Linked DNA regions of Homo sapiens: all the other regions are linked to region 2. The links are contacts of gene promoters, found by promoter capture Hi-C in blood cells and fetal thymus (Javierre and others, 2016). All regions are on one chromosome and are shown on one strand. The core of a region is centred on a gene start or on the middle of the fragment in contact, and the rest is flanking DNA. Distances in the headings are between cores, read along the strand shown. Region 1 has its middle 19 kb from the start of OR10A7. Region 2 holds the start of OR10P1 (olfactory receptor family 10 subfamily P member 1). Region 3 has its middle 32 kb from the start of OR9K2.

What was found. Contacts are between HindIII fragments. The CHiCAGO score rates a contact against its expected background, and 5 or more counts as called.
Region 1: a fragment that was not itself captured here is called in contact with the fragment with the promoter of OR10P1 in region 2 in 2 of 17 cell types (endothelial precursors and naive B cells); the score reaches 5.3 in endothelial precursors.
Region 3: a contact is called between a fragment that was not itself captured here and the fragment with the promoter of OR10P1 in region 2, in 4 of 17 cell types (M1 macrophages, naive B cells, M2 macrophages and 1 more). The highest score is 7.1, in M1 macrophages.

The regions. Positions count from the first base shown.
Region 1 is chr12:55,200,099-55,203,633 of GRCh38, reverse strand. No RefSeq gene overlaps it. Among named protein-coding and RNA genes, the nearest start is that of OR10A7, 19 kb to the left of the region's middle. The HindIII fragment of the contact is 2,665 bases long and covers 441-3,105 here.
Region 2 is chr12:55,635,508-55,638,935 of GRCh38, reverse strand. It overlaps OR10P1 (olfactory receptor family 10 subfamily P member 1), which reads right to left and starts at 2,044. Exons shown (of 1, transcript NM_206899.1): 1 at 1,103-2,044. The coding sequence starts at 2,044. The coding sequence ends at 1,103. RefSeq lists an enhancer at 1,706-2,207. The HindIII fragment of the contact is 13,599 bases long and covers 1-3,428 here.
Region 3 is chr12:55,156,811-55,159,877 of GRCh38, reverse strand. It overlaps the pseudogene OR9R1P. Among named protein-coding and RNA genes, the nearest start is that of OR9K2, 32 kb to the right of the region's middle. The HindIII fragment of the contact is 1,608 bases long and covers 609-2,216 here.

The DNA of each region.
Region 1 (3,535 bases), core at 524-3,023, 440 kb after region 2:
TTTGAATGTGAACCACTTTAAGTGGAGTGAGATTAAATATCTCATTGCAGATTTAATTTGCATTTTTCTGATGATCAGAGATGTTGAGCACCTTTTCACATATCTGTTGGTCATTTGTATGTCTTCTTTCCAGAAATGTCTATTCAGATCTTCTGCTTATTTCTTAATCAAATTATTAGATTTTCTTTCTATAGAGTTGTTTGAGCCCCTTATATATTCTGGTTATTAACCTCTTGTCAGATGGGCAGTTTGCAAATATTTCCCCATTCTGTGGGTTGTATCTTCACTTTTTTGATTGTATCCTTTGCTGTGCATAAGCTACTTAATGTGATTGACCACATTTTTCCATTTTTGTTTTGGTTGCCCATTCCAATGTCCTGGGGAGTTTCCCCAATGTTTTCTTGTAGTAGTTTCATAGCTCGAGGTCTTAGATTAAAGCTTTTCATCCATTTTGATTTGATTTTGTATGCGATGTGAGATAGGGGTCTATTTCATTCTTCTACATGTGGATATCTAGTTTTCCCAGCATCATTTATTGAAGAGGCTGTCCTTTTCCCAATGTATGTTCTTGGTATCTTTGTTTAAAGTGAGTTCACTGAGATGCATAGATTTATTTCTGGGTGCTCTATTCTGTTCCGTTGGTCTATTTGTCTGTTTTTATGCCAGAACCATGCTCTTTTGGTTACTATAGCTTTGTAGTATAAATTGAAGTCGGGTAATGTTCCTTCAGTTTTGTTCTTTTTGATTAGGATAGGTTTGCCCACACTGAGAATTTTGTGGTTCCATAAAAATTTTAGGATTTTTTAAATTTTTTTGAAGAATGTCATTGGAATTATAGGGATTGCATTCAATCTGTAGATTGCTTTGGGTAGTATGGAAATATTAACAATATTAAATCTTTCAATTCCCGAAAGTAGAATATCTTTCCATTTTTTTGTGTCCTCTTCAGTTTCTTGCATCAATGTTTCATCATTTCATTGTAGAGATCTTTCACCTATTTGGTTAATTCCTAGGTATTATATTTTAATTGTAGCTACTATAAGTGGGATTACTTTCTTGATTTCTTTTTCAGACTATTTGTTATTGGTATGTTAAAATGCTAACTGATTTTTATATGTTGATTTTTGTATCTTGTAACTTCACCAAACTTCTTTATTGTTTGTAATACTTTTTGAAGGAGTCTTTAAGTTTTTTCAAATGTAAGATCACATCATCTGTAAACAATGATAATTTGACTTCTTCCTTTTCAATTTGGATGCTGTTTATATCTTTTCTTGACTGATTGCTCTAGGACTTCTAGTACTGTGTCAAATAATGGTGGAGACAGTGGGCATCCTTGTCATGCTCCAGATCTTGGAGGAAAGACTTTCAGCTTTTCTCCATTCAGTATGATACTAATTATGGGTCTGTCGTATATGGCTTTTATTATACTGAAGGACGTTCCTTCTATACCCATTTTTTAGGGTTTTTGTCATGCAGAGATGTTAAATTGTATCAAATGCTTATTCAGCATCAATTGAAATGATCATATGCTTTTTGTTCTTCATTCTGTTGATATAATGTATAACATTGACTGATTTGTGTATGTTGAATCATCCTTGCATCCCTGGGATAAATCCCACTTATTCACGATGAATAGTATCTTTATAGTTGAATTTGGTTTGCTAGTATTTTACTGAGGATATTTGCATCAATTTTTGTTGGAGATATTGGCCTGTAGTTTTATTTTTTGCTGTGTCTTTGTCTGGTTTTGGCAATTGAATGGTTTTAATCCATTCAGCCGTCTGGCTTTGTCTGGATCACACTGGTTTTGTAGCAAAAGTTTGGAAGTATTCACTCCTCCTCTATTTTTCAGAATAGTTTGAATAGGGTTGGGAATATTGCTTCTTTAAATGTTTGGTAGAATTCAGCAATGAAGTCATCAGGCACCAGGCTTTTCTTTGCTGGGAGACTTTTTGTTACAGCTTCAATCCTGTTACTTGTTATTGATCTGTTTAGGTTCCGGATTTCTTCATGGCTCAATGTTGGTAGGTTGTATGTATCTAGTGCTTTATCTGTTTCTACTAGATTTTCCAACATATTGGCATATAGTTCCTCAGAGTAGCCACTGATGAGCCCTTGAATTTTTGTGCTATCAGTTGTAATAGCTACTTTTTTATCTCTGTTTTTATTTATTTGTGTCTTCTCTCTTTTTTTCTTAGTCTGGTTAAAGGTTTGTCAAATTTGTTTAACTTTTCAAAAAAAAGTTTTGTTTTGTTGATATTTAGTATTATTTTGTTTCAATTTTATTTATTTATGATCTGATCTTTATTATTCCTTTTCTTTGCCTTATTTTTAGTTTGGTTTGCTATTGCTTTTCTAGTTCTTTGTATTTGTTTCTGTTTCTGGATGGTTACTTGTACTTTTGTCTGGAATATAATCCCCTCTTTCTTTATTTTCCTTGATTCCCTCTTTTGGTTTCTGCAAATTAGATAAGATTACCTCTCTTCATCTTGTTAGACTGGTCTTGTGTATGAGAAGGTTTTGCCAATTCAACTGGCCAAAGATTTTAAGATGCCTCCAAAATCTGTGTGTTTGTCCAGATTGCTATCTTGGTTTTTGGTGGCCCTCTGGAGCTTAGGGCATGTCACATTTTGTCAGTACTCTGTTATCAGTATAAGAGCTAAGCTCTTAGGATGAAGCTGAAAAGGTTGAGGTTTTTGATATGTGTTCTAGTTCTTTCTATTTTCATGGTGAAGATGATGGTGGGCATTTATCTTGTAGTCTCTCTGCACTAAACTAGGAAGGGGATCTGCAGCAAATGCCTGTTCTCACATGCAGGCTACATTTTCTTATCCTAGACAGAGAGCTTCTGGAAATGGTCCTACTATATGTCTACATGTTTGTTTTCTGTGGTCTTGGGTCACTCAGATTCACAAAGCCCCCTTGATTTCAAAGCTAGGTCTCTAAGGAGACAGTTCCTTAGGTGGGAGCTATGGAAGTTGTGGCATTTGATACATAGCTAAATTTCTTCCAGAAAGAATGAATAGGCCTGGATTTATCTCTGGAGTAAGCTGAGAAGAGGTCTCAGAAAGTACCTCGCTCTTGCTTTGGCAACCAAAAGCTTGTTGTTTCTTTGTCCTGTTAGCTTCTCAATATAAGTTCATTAGAAACCAGGCCATCAGGTAGCCACTGGGAGTGTGTGTTATATGCTCCTTATTGAAAGAATGTGAGAGTGCACATTCCTGCCCCCTTTCTGCACTGTACCAAGGGAATGGTGCATCTGGAAGTGTTTGGATACCCATTTAGTATCACCTCTCAGTTCTGTGATCAAGGGAGACTTGCATATGCCTAATCTCTTCTGCTTCCAGAACTACTAGGTTTAGGGTGGAGTTCTTGGGAAGTAGAGTTAGAACTTTTTGTTCTCTATGTGTGACCTCTATTTCTTCTGGGAAAACACAGAGAGAGCATCTTTTTAAGCCCCTTTTCTGTATTGCTCCAGTGAGATAAACTCCCTGGAGGTGCTTGCATGCCTGTCTGAAATGCCACTTTTTTT
Region 2 (3,428 bases), core at 795-3,294:
CTCCTTGAAGATCACAGGGGTGGTAAGAGGGAAGACTGGGTTCCCATCATTTCCTGAACAGCTCATGTTATTGATGAAATGTTGAGGTCTCTCCTCACTGAAAGCCAGAGTTTCTGGCATTTCTTGGCTAGAGGACACAAAGGTGGTAATGATGTGTGAGAGGTGAGGGAATAGAGGGGACGTGGAACAGCCTGTCTTTTTGCCTCGGCCTTCTGCTGCCCTTTAGCTATGGGGGGCTCCAGGGAATAAAGCAGGAGAAACATCTGTCCCTGGGCTGAGGGAAGTGGGCAGCCGGTGGCACCTCAGCACAGAGGGATGGGAGTGTTTTCCTTCCACCTTGTCTTGCTTCTGGCTCCCTGGTTAGCTCCAGCTCTGGATCCTGCCTCTCAAGCTGGTGGGTCTTCTGGAATCCCTGACCAGCTCTTTCCCAAAAGCACCCACAGTAGGACACCCCAGTGTGTTTCTGGGAGACATGTATAGGCTGTCCTGGGAGATAACTTTTCCTGATGTTTAACTTGGTCCTTTTTGATACCATCTGACCATCTTCCCTTTTGTGCTGGTATCTTGGGAAGGAGAGAGCCTTATGACTGGAACCCTCAGATGCCCCTCTTCCTGAAGGCCAAGGGGAGAACAGATGTTCCACTGAGTAGAGGAAAGCTCAGACACAGGTGGTGGAAGAAAATGTAACAGAGGGGCTAGGTAAACTCCTCCACAGGCTTTGGGTGGGCCACTTAGTTGGATGTCAAGTTCACAGACACCTGCTTTCATGACTGACATGGACCTCTGGCTACCGGTGCAGCCATGGCAATCACTGTGCTCAGGGATCCAGAACAATCTAGAAGATGCTAAATAAATGTCCTTTCCCTAGGGCAGCAATCACTTTCATTCTACCTTGACCTAATAACCCATGCTCTGATAGTGAGTGTGGACTCTGGGATAAGAGGCAATATGTAGATTTATCTCTGTTTTAATTTCAGCACTTTCTTCCAGGAAGCCTTTTCCTTTGAGGTGCTGCATGATTTCTGTGAGAGTGGGGTTTAAATCCAGTCCCTGAAGAGTGGGAGGATGAGCACTGAGTGAGTGAGCAGACATCCGAGTCCCTTCAGGGTGAGGGGCGCTGCCTCTTCACCAAGTGTCGCAGGGCCCTCCTCACGTCCTTGTTCCGAAGGGTGTAGATGATGGGGTTGAGCATGGGTGTGATGACTGTGTAGAAGAGACTGAGGACGCGGTCTGTGGTAACAGAGGAGCCTGCCTGCGGCCGGATGTAGGTGATGCTGGCTGTTCCAAAGAAGAGAGAGACCACGAGCAGATGGGAGGAGCAGGTGGAGAAGACCTTGCGGCGGCTCTGGGTGGAGGCCATTGCTAGGATGGCACCCAGGATGCGGATGTAAGAGGTGACAATCAGAGAGAAGGGGATCATAATGAAGACTATGGTGGCTGTCATCACGGAGATCTCGCTCCTGTGCTTCCCAGCACTTGCCAGCCTCAGTACTGGCAGGATGTCACAGAGAAAGTGCGGGATGATCGGGTGGCTGCGAAAAGGTAGAGAGAAGATGAGGGAGGCATGGGTGGTGGCCGTGATGATGCCTGTGAGCCAGGAGGTACCCACCATGGCCATGCAGGCCCGTGGGCTCAAGAGGGTGGAATAGCGTAGGGGCTGGCAGATGGCAACATATCGGTCATAGGCCATGGCCGTGAGCAGGCAGCACTCCGAGATGCCCAGGACAATGAAGACGTACATCTGGGCTGCACAGCCCTGGAAAGAGATGGCCTGGGGATGCGGGGAGCCCAGATTGGCCAGGGTCCTGGGCACGATGTCAGTGGTGTAGAAGAGCTCCACCACTGAGAGTTGGCGCAGGAAGAAGTACATGGGGGAGTGCAGGGCAGGGCTGACCTGTGTGAGGAGGATGATCAGGGAGTTACCCAGCAAGGTGACCAGGTAGACCAGAAGCACCACCCAGAACAGGGGGCCCTGCAGGGCCTTGAGGTCAGAGAATCCCAGAAGGAGGAATTCAGGCAGTGTAGTATGGTTTTCCCCAGCCATCACTCCAGGCCAGAAGCTGAGGCACAGCCAAGAAGAGAAGTTATTTAGAAATAACAAGCAACATTTCTGTAATTTGGTAAAGCACTTGCCACACAGTTCCTCTCAAAATCAAGTGAGAGAATTAATACCTTTCTCTGAATGAGCCATGGGTCTCAGAGAGATTAAATAATGTGTCTGAGGTAATATCTAGAAAGTGGCAGGCCTGGAACTTGAATCCAGGTCTCTTGACTCCAAATTCGACGCCTTTCTCACTGTTTCCTGGGCTCTCGTCCTGTGTCTGGGGCCTGACTCTCATATGTAAAGACTCTAGCTCTGATCTTTGGATCTCTCTCCAGAGTGAGGGGTGAAGCAGCTGCTATGACCTAGGCCCCTTTGTACTCTCTAGATGGATGCTGAGGCACAAAAGAAACTGGGTAGCACCAGGGACTGTCCCGAACTGGTGTCTAATGTTCACCATAGTGAGCTGTGGGTTAAGAGTGTCACACAGTGATATGACTATTTGTGATAATACTGCCCAATGGTATCATTGGGATTCTGACACCTTCCCTGATTTCTCTGTTCTCCTCTTATCTGGGGCCCTGTGATCAGCTACACTAGCTGTTCTGTCCCAGCACACCCTGTTCTGTCAGGCCTCCATGCATTGCCATAGTGTCTCCTTTCAGAGGATATTTCTATTCTTCATATTAAAATCCCATCACACTTCAAGCCTTCACTCAAGTTTCGCTATCTCGGTGGCAGCTTTCTGTGATCCTCAGGCTCAGAAATAATTATCCATGGCATTTCAAGATTAAAAGTGACATTTAGGAACATATATTTCCATATGACAGTACTTGGATCTTATCTTCAACATTTTAGAAGGGTGCTGTGCAGAGTCTGTTTGAACATCTGCAGTGATGGGGAACTCACCACCTATTGAGGTAGCCCTTTCTAGCTATGGCCTCTTCTGCCTGTAGGAAAAGACTTTACTGTATTGGTCTTGGCTAAATGCTTAGTATTTCATACAATATTTAACTCCTCTTGCACCAGAGAGCCCTTGAGTATTTGAGGAAGGCACTTTTATCTCTGCTTTCATGAGATGTTGCTTGTCCTTTTGTCCTAGCACTTATTACTCCACTGTGAGATCCTGCAGGACGTGGTGGGGAGGTGGGGAGGCAGTTACCTATTTTAGCAGCTGCTAATGTTTCCCAAGTGCTTGGTTCCTGCCAGGCACCATGCTAAGGGCTAAACATTCATTAAATCATTGGATCTTCCTAATTACACTACGACATAGAAACCTTCATTTTCTCCATTTTACAGATAAGGAGAGGGAAGCCCAGACAGTGTTAAGTAACTTTCTCAATGTCACACATTTTGTAAGTGACAGAGTTTGGGTTCAAATCCAGGT
Region 3 (3,067 bases), core at 163-2,662, 480 kb after region 2:
CATCTCCATACTTTCAGATGTTTTTCTTTGAAATTATTCTATAATAAATTACTGATAGTATTGCTCTTAGTTGCTTCTATAGTTTTATAGATGGCTAGAGGCCAATGAAAAGATATTTTTCTTATCAATGTCCTTTTCAAAGCATTTTGCACCTATTTCTTAGACTATAAATCAGATATTTAACATAGGGATGACAAGAGTTTAGAATACAACTATAACCTTGCTCTTTGGAGATGGCCCCAGGTTGGGCATACATGAAGAATACAGTTCCATAGAATAAACTCACCACAGTGATGTGAGAGCTGCAAGTGGAGAAAGTCTTCCTTCTGCCGTGGGTTGAGAGAATCTTCAGGACAGTGGAGAGGATATGCACATAGGAAGCCAGAATGACAGTTGTGGTGGTGGTGATGAGAGCAGAGAGAATAAACAGTACTACCTCATTCACAAGGATGTCAATACATGAGATCTTGATCATGACTGAGACATCACAGAAAAAGTGCTCTAATCTGTTTTCTCCACAGAAATGCAAACTGAAGGTAAAACCTGTTTGTATCATGGAGTTGATGCATCCACAGATAGAGGAGCCAACCACCAAACAAACACAAGCTTGCTGAGACATACATACAGTATAGAAGAAAGGTGAACAAATAGCTGAGAAGCGATCATATGCCATCATATCCAGAAAAAAACCTTCAGTCCCAACAAAGAGAGCAAAGAAAAACAACTGTGTTGCTCAACCATTGTAAGAAATTTTCTTTTCCTTGGAAAATAAAGTAGTCAGTTTTGGAAGCAATAACTGTGGAGTAGCGGAGATCCAAATAGGACAAATTTCTGAGAAAGAAATACACAGGTGTGTGAAGTCTGGAGTCTATTTCAATGACAACTAACATGCTGAGATTTCTCAACACAATGACCATGTAGATAAGCAAGAACAGGAAGAATAAGAGAATCTGTGCTTCTGGCGATGTTCTGAATCCCAGCAGAATAAACTCTGTCACCTCTGAGTAATTCCTGTTCAGTTCGCTCTTCATAGCCAAGACCTATCTGAGAAAAATGAGTGGATTATAATGAAGCCTGGTCAACTTTTGGTCCCTGAAGTTGCCAACGGGAAAAAACAGACAAAAAAACGCTGATACAAATTGGAGTTTTCTTGGCAGTGCATCTGATAGAATAGTTTTACATTTAGAAGCAACCACAGTAAAATCAAAATAAGGTTATTTAGGTTTTTCCCGTCTATTTAGTTTTAGTATTATGTGAGAAATTTGAATGGGCACGGGATATTTCCAGCAGTAAATTATCAGTCATTTTATGCTGTTTGTGAAGAGCTTTGGAGTCATATGGGCTGCATCCAAATTTTACATCTTTCAGTATGAAAGAATCTAAGATAACCATCTACACTTTTGATACCTCAGAAGTCCTCCTCTGCCAAATGGGAGGCACCTGTGAAGATTACACAAAATTGAGTGTGAAAAGCAATATTTATAATGACACAAACATCTTAAAAACATACACGTCAGTGAAATAAATAAAAAAACAAACACAAAGTTTCTTGTGCTCTAAGAATGGAAAACTGAGTGAAAACATAGGTCAATTCCTTTCCCCACTACAAGATAATTAATGCAGTTAATTTGGTTCTTAAAACATTCTGCTACATAGAAGACATTAGGAAACATGGGGTTATAGTTTAATGAGGTAGAATGAACCACTAGTCTTGAGAATGTCATTCAAAATAATAAATCAGACTCTTATCCCCTACATTAACCACATATTGTTCAGCTTCCAGGTCCTTCATTTACTATTAGTGTCTGAATGCTGGTGGCTCCCTTTTCTGGCACCCAAACTGCAGCATGCCTTTTCTTTTTACTGCCATAGACATATGAATTATTTTGTTTATATAGGAACACTATGGTTAGGTATAAGATTAACTTCCCCAACAAGAAATGTTTTCCCCTCTATATATTGTTAACAAAGCACAAGACAATAATGCAAATAAGTGTGGGGGGAGGGGGTGGAAATTCTGTATTGCATGGGTTCTGTTTTTTGTATTTTTCTAACTATTAATGCTTAATAGTAAATACTAAAGAGGCACAGAGATAAAACATTAATAATTTTTAAGATATCTAAAACATTAAATTAAAGTGGAAAAAATAAATTTTATATTATAAATCAATGGTTTTATTACTACATTTAATTTCTGAATTAGCAAAAGAGAAGCTTTTTCTGTCTAGAAACTTAATATATTTGAAGTTACATAGTTTTATTTAGAAATTTTCATAAAATTGAGGAGCCAAGATGGCGGAATAGGAACAGCTCCGGTCTACAGCTCCCAGCGTGAGCAACGCAGAAGAGGGGTGATTTCTGCATTTCCAACTGAGGTACTGGGTTCATCTCACAGGGGAGTGCCAGACAGTAGGTGCAGGACAGTGGGTGCAGCGCACCATGCGTGAGCCGAAGCAGGGCGATGTATCGCCTCACCTGGGAAGCGAAAGGGGTCAGGGAATTCCCTTTCCTAGTCAAAGAAAGGGGTGACAGATGGCACCTGGAGAATTGGGTCACTCCCACCCTAATACTGTGCTTTTCCAACAGGCTTAAAAAATGGCACACCAGGAGATTATATCCCGCACATGGCTTGGAGGGTCCTACGCCCACAGAGTCTCACTCATTGCTAGCACAGCAGTCCCAGATCAAACTGCAAGGTGGCAGCCAGGCTGTGGGAGGGGCGCCCACCATTGCCAAGTTAGTTGTTTGATTAGGTAAACAAAGCAGCCTGGAAGCTCGAACTGGGTGGAGCCCACCACAGCTCAAGGAGGCCTGCCTGCTTCTGTAGGCTCCACCTCTCAGGGCAGGGCGCAGACAAACAAAAAGACAGCAGTAACCTCTGCAGACTTAAATGTACCTCTCTGACAGCTTTGAAGAGAGTAGTGGTTCTCCCAGCATGCAGCTTGAGATCTGAGAACAGGCAGACTGCCTCCTCAAGTGGGTCCCTGAACCCCGAGTAGCCTAACTGGGAGGCACCCCCCAGTAGGGGCGGACTGACACCTCACACAGCCAGGTACTCCTCTGAGAC